Regions from separate parts of the Homo sapiens genome. Here region 1 is linked to region 2. The links are contacts of gene promoters, found by promoter capture Hi-C in blood cells and fetal thymus (Javierre and others, 2016). All regions are on one chromosome and are shown on one strand. The core of a region is centred on a gene start or on the middle of the fragment in contact, and the rest is flanking DNA. Distances in the headings are between cores, read along the strand shown.

Evidence for each region. The method cuts DNA at HindIII sites, captures the fragments that hold promoters and counts their contacts. A CHiCAGO score of 5 or more calls a contact.
Region 1: a contact is called between a fragment that was not itself captured here and the fragment with the promoter of GRXCR2 in region 2, in 1 of 17 cell types (M0 macrophages). The highest score is 5.3, in M0 macrophages.

The regions. Positions count from the first base shown.
Region 1 is chr5:146,059,044-146,061,944 of GRCh38, forward strand. SH3RF2 (SH3 domain containing ring finger 2) reads left to right here. Exons shown (of 10, transcript NM_152550.4): 9 at 823-1,181. The region is part of intron 1 of LOC107986458 (a long non-coding RNA gene); the gene reads right to left. Among named protein-coding and RNA genes, the nearest start is that of PLAC8L1, 45 kb to the right of the region's middle. The HindIII fragment of the contact is 2,110 bases long and covers 298-2,407 here.
Region 2 is chr5:145,871,628-145,874,420 of GRCh38, forward strand. GRXCR2 (glutaredoxin and cysteine rich domain containing 2) reads right to left here and starts at 1,387. Exons shown (of 3, transcript NM_001080516.2): 1 at 1,006-1,387. The coding sequence starts at 1,341. The HindIII fragment of the contact is 6,212 bases long and covers 1-2,793 here.

The DNA.
Region 1 (2,901 bases), core at 103-2,602, 190 kb after region 2:
TAGAATGCAATCCTCACAGCAGCCCAATGATGTACTGTTATTATCTCCAGCTTACAAACGAGAGAACTGAGGTGCAGAGAGGTGACGTGACTTAACTCATCCCAGGCTTTCCAGGAGGAGGTCTGATTCCAGATCCTCTGTCATGAGACATTGCAAAGCCCATCCTCACAGCCCTAACTGTGGAATAACCTTTCCAAATTTGCCTTTGTCTGCTGTTGTGCTTGCCTAGCCCTTGCCACTCACCCTTTCTCCCTGCAGCCCCCGACAAAAAGCAACCCCCACCTGCCACATGCCTAAAGCTTCTGTCAAGATTTTCACAGCAAGTCGCTGGGCAGAGTTTTCCTCTCTCCTCCTCTCTTTCTCCTTTTCCTCTCTCTCATTCTTCTCGGTTGCCTCTCCTTTGTGTTTCTCAATGTCTTCTATTTCCTATCTCTGATTCTGTCATGTGTTTCCTATTTGGTCTGACTGCCTCTGTGTCTGCTTCACGCGCGCGTGTGTGTGTGTACGTGTGTGTGTGCGTGTGTGTGTGTGTATCACAAGGCAAATGGAAGCAATATACCTTCTGACAGCCCCCCTACACACATACACACATACACACTCACACACACCATTCAGCCAGAGAGATATTTGCTGCCAGCATCAGCAAACAGCACTAAAAAAAGAATAAGGTCACCTTTGAAAGACCCGGAGAGAATGTGAGTGCAGTCAGATTAGGAAAGCGCTTGTCTATTCTGGGATATCAGGAAGCACTGCTTACCCAGCCCCACCCAACCTACTGCCAGCCGCCCCTGCTGCTGATCTCTCTGTCCTATAATTCCCCAGATGGATCCCTGCAGAGACCCCTCCAGTCCGGGATCCCCACTCTCGTGGTAGGCTCCCTCAGACGCAGCCCCACCATGGTCCTTCGGCCTCAGCAGTTCCAATTCTACCAGCCACAGGGGATCCCCTCCTCCCCCTCAGCCGTGGTGGTGGAGATGGGGTCCAAGCCTGCCCTCACGGGGGAGCCCGCCCTCACGTGCATCAGCAGGGGCAGTGAGGCCTGGATCCACTCCGCGGCCAGCTCCCTCATTATGGAAGACAAAGAAATCCCCATCAAGAGTGAGCCTCTGCCAAAACCGCCCGCATCTGCCCCACCATCCATCCTGGTGAAACCAGAAAACTCAAGAAATGGCATCGAAAAGGTAGGATCAGAGTGACATTGGGGGCCCAACTCTTTCGATCCCGTACTATGCATAGTGTCTCAGCTCAGAGATTTTAGTGTTGGTGAACAAGGAACCAAAATTGCAGCCTCGAAAGAATCCTCACACATAACACTCCTCCTCCCCAACTCCCCACTGAGCCATGGCCAACATCCCCAACATCACCCACGCCCTCCCTACATGTGTTACTGATTCGCCTTTATGTTTCCTGAATATTTTATACATCTTTTGAGGCCCAAAAGTGGCTTGAAAAAAAAGCATGACTTTGGCATTAGATGAATCTTGCTTTGAATTCTAGCTTTGCTGCTTGCTAGCTGGGTGACTTTGGTCAAAATACTTCACCCTTCTGAGTCACTTAGTTTGCATAATCTGTAAAATGGAGGTAGAAAGAGTAATGGCCACACAGTAATGGAGTGGAGATTAAACGAGATATGTGAAGTGCTTACATAGGGTTTGACACATAATTATGCATTGTATAAAAGGGGCAACTGAGGCACAGGATAATGTAAGTGACATCGAGGTCACACTGAATGATAATGACTCCAACTACCTTATTGTGACCTCTGTGGCAGACGTCAGATCTGTTAACTTCTAGTCCAGGATATTTCCCACTAGAAGACGTGAGAGTTTTTGTAAAAGGCTTATGTTCTCAATAATATCCTTGAAGCAGGAGGAATAGTGGGAAGAGAGGACAGTAAGAAAGTTAGGTGATGCTTATTGCTGTCTTAATTTATGAACATCACCATCATCACATCATCGCCATCACCACCTCCATCACCACCGCCATCAGCATCATTCCACCATCATCGTCCATTCCCCTCAGAACGGAAAGAGGATGCGATTCCCCCATTGGTTAACCAGTTATCGAATACTAACAAGCTGGCAGGCACTGTGCTGAGTACTTCATGTGTCCCATATATTTAATCCTGACAACAACCCTCTCAAATAGGCATTAGTTTCATCCTCATTTTAAAATTAGGAAATGGCAGCTCAGGGAGTTAAAGAACATTACCCAAGACCGCACAGTTGACACATACGTGTGGAGTAGAATCCAGATCTGATGCAAAACTCATGCTCTTACTGCTAAGCTATCAGCTCATAGGGAAAGGTATTGGAAAAAGCACTGACATATATAAAGGTTGGGAGTTCTTATTCTGAATTATAGAAATAATTCAGAGTTTTCTAGGCCCCAGTTGCCCATTACTCCAAGCTTTTAGATACAACTATAAGCATTTCATAAATGCCCAGACCTTGGCTAGATATTAGGAGGATCAGAACGTATGAAGAAACTCAGATCTTAGTGGGGGATACTAGGGTTGCATTACATGGAAGAAAGACATCATTCCTGAGCAGTACCACAGAACGCTTTATTAGGCCCTGAGATAGAGACTGGCTAAAGCAAATACTGTACCTATGGGTGCCTAGCAGATATATAACAGGCTAGGAGATGTGAAAGGAAAGAGGAAGAGGGGGAATTGGCATAAACTGGAGACCTTGCATCTCATATAAAGGGGGCACTGCTTCTCAGGTCCAGCCAGCTGTTGTCAGAATGAGCCATAGGCCCAGTGCGTCAGAGCTTTGATTTTTTTTTTAAGAGACATATGAAATTCTGATTTTTATATGCAATCTCCCAATTTTTATGTGTTGGCGAGTCGATCAAACCCTCAAACATTCTGCAGGCTAAATTCAGCCAGCAGGTGTC
Region 2 (2,793 bases), core at 137-2,636:
CCTAGTGTTATCTTCGGTAATTGTGAACATGCCCATAATTATACTTTTACCAATGCCAGTAAAGCCAGTAATACATTTGTCTGCAATAGATGTGTTATCTATTCCCTTAGGAAACTAACAATAAAAATAATTCAAGAGTAATTATCTGGCTTTCACACTTTAAAGATGAGAACACATCCTGGTGTGCTATTCATTAATAACGTGGATACATTATATAATTGTATTTTATCTTTTTTAAGAAGTCATTCATGGTCCCACTGACAGCATATATACATCTCCTATGAATTTTTGGATACCAGTGTATGTTTTCCAGGTTCTACCTTAAAAGAAAATCATGTATGGACTTTTGATTATCCATGGTACTGGGAAGTAATTGAAATTCATAGATTAAACACATTCTTCAATCGAACCATTAGCTCAAACTTCTTCCTCACATAACATATCCTCTGGCTGATTTGCGTTTCACCATCCCTTCCCAGGACTCCAACTACCCAGAGCTTATGCTAAGGAGCAATGGAAAGGAAAAATAAATAGACAAAGCAGGCAGTATGAGGAAGGCAATAGGGGTAAAAAACAAGACATGGATAAACTGCAAGCTGAGTAATTGGCTGGAGTAAAATGAGCACTTTCAAATACTCAGCTCTTTCAGGAAACAAAATGACTGCATAATTGTCTAAAACCGCAGTCTGACAACCTGAAAACCACTGCACCTCTATTTAATTTACATTCCAGGAAAACTCAGTCAAAGATCCAATTACAATGTATTACCTTGGATGGAATTTGAATACTATATATGCTCATTGCACTTTCCAATTAGTAGTCAACAAGCATGTTATTTTTACCCCAGAAATATTCGTCTAATAACAACTTCCCATTTGGTGCACCAACAGTTCTGGTTGGTACCGGAGGGGGAGCAAGACACAAATCTGAACCATTTAGGAGTTTCTCTAAACACGTTTTAGGAAGCCCTACCCTTAAAGCCTATATGCCATGCACAATACCAACCTTATGGTCATTCGCCTTGTAATCGTTGAACCGAGGCTGGCCGCCTGCCAAGGTGTAGGCATTACCCTCTCTAAACACACTGATCCTCTGAGCAGTCAGCTTAGGGGAGCACATCTGGGGCCTGGGGACTTCCCCAGACCCATAAACACCATCCATTGTTTCAAGAGACTCTTGCAGAAAACTGTGAGGGTATTCCTCCTTTGGTGACTCTAATTCCTGCCCATCCTCAAAGACCTGCTTCAATACTCGACCGCTGTAGGAGGAGGAGATTTTAAATCGTACTTTCCGGGGTTTGCCATCACTCTTCTGATTCAGCTTTTTCTCAGGGTCCTCCATCAGCAGAAAGTTGACCCTGTGGTCTCCAGCCTTCCGTGCAGCCGGTGAAACTTGGGCCTCTGAGAAAAAGGCATTTTATTTTCTCTCCTCCTGCATATAATTAATTCAAGTTGTTGCTGGGGTATGGTCAGTTTACAGCAACTGACACCCATACATTAAATATTGATAGACCCTCATGAAAAGGCAGGTGATTCTGGTTTGATGGAGTGGATGGAATATAAGACAAGATTGATTCTTCTCATAATCCCAAGCTCACCATGACTTCACCCCAACCCTAACCTTTCTTAACCTGAGGATGAAGAAGTTTATTTAGACTGAACATGTGCCAATTCAATAAGGATCAGACACTCAATTAGTTAACAAGTGTCTTCTTATTGTTAGCAATGACAATTAAAATCTAGTGAGCATTTCATAAGTACCAGAGATTGTTACATGCATTATTTTATTTCATCCTCACGATAACCCTACAAAGAAAATCTTACCTTTGTTTTACACAGGGGAAAGTGAGGCTTAGAGCCACTTGTCATTTATCTTCATCATTTGTCTGCTCTATTACACCTAAGTAAGTGACAGAGCAGGGATTTGAACCCAGATCTATCTGACTCCAAAACCCAAGATCAGCCCACACAACCAGAAGTTTTCCAGTTCTGGTTCTAGAAGAGGGAATGACGTCCTAGATACAGTGGAGGTTCTTGGAGGCTGCTGCTAAGAACAGGAGAAGGCCGAGGGTCCTGGATTCTGGGCCTTCTCCCCCTACGCTAACCAGAGCACCTCCACTTGGTATGTATTTTACATTTAAGATTTCATTTGCAATCACAGCACAAGTCCCCATTGCCTGTTGGACTTCGTAAATGCCTGACACTGAACTAGTGGCTGGAGTGAATAGCACAGAAGCATGTGACCTGGGCCTGAGAACAGTCCTACAATCCCATACAGACCTCACACAGGTGAAATAATAACCTCATGCTTAGAGAGCAAACTGCCCACAGCTGAATCCCAGAATAGCCACTCTGGGAAGGAAGTGGTCTCTAAGGAGACAAGGATGGAAGAAGGTTTGTAAAGAAAAGGGCCCTTGGGCTGGGTAGAAAATGGTAGGTTGGATGTGAGGAGCTGAAAGTGGAGTAAAGCCTTTCTCCCTGTCTTTGCTACCAGCATCACCATTTACTGAGTTACCCAAATTGACCCCTCCTATTCCCCTACAGCCATTCGCTTGGATTCTTTTTTTTTATTATTTTATTTTATTTTTTTTTTTTTGAGACGGAGTCTCACTCTGTTGCCAGGCTGGAGTGCAGTGGTACGATCTCGGCTCACTGCAACCTCCACCTCCTGAGTTCGAGCAATTCTCATGCCTCAGCCTCCCGAGTAGCTGGGACTACAGGCACACGCCACCATGCCCAGCTAATTTTTGTATTTTTAGTAGAGATGGAGTTTCACCATGTTGGCCAGGATGGT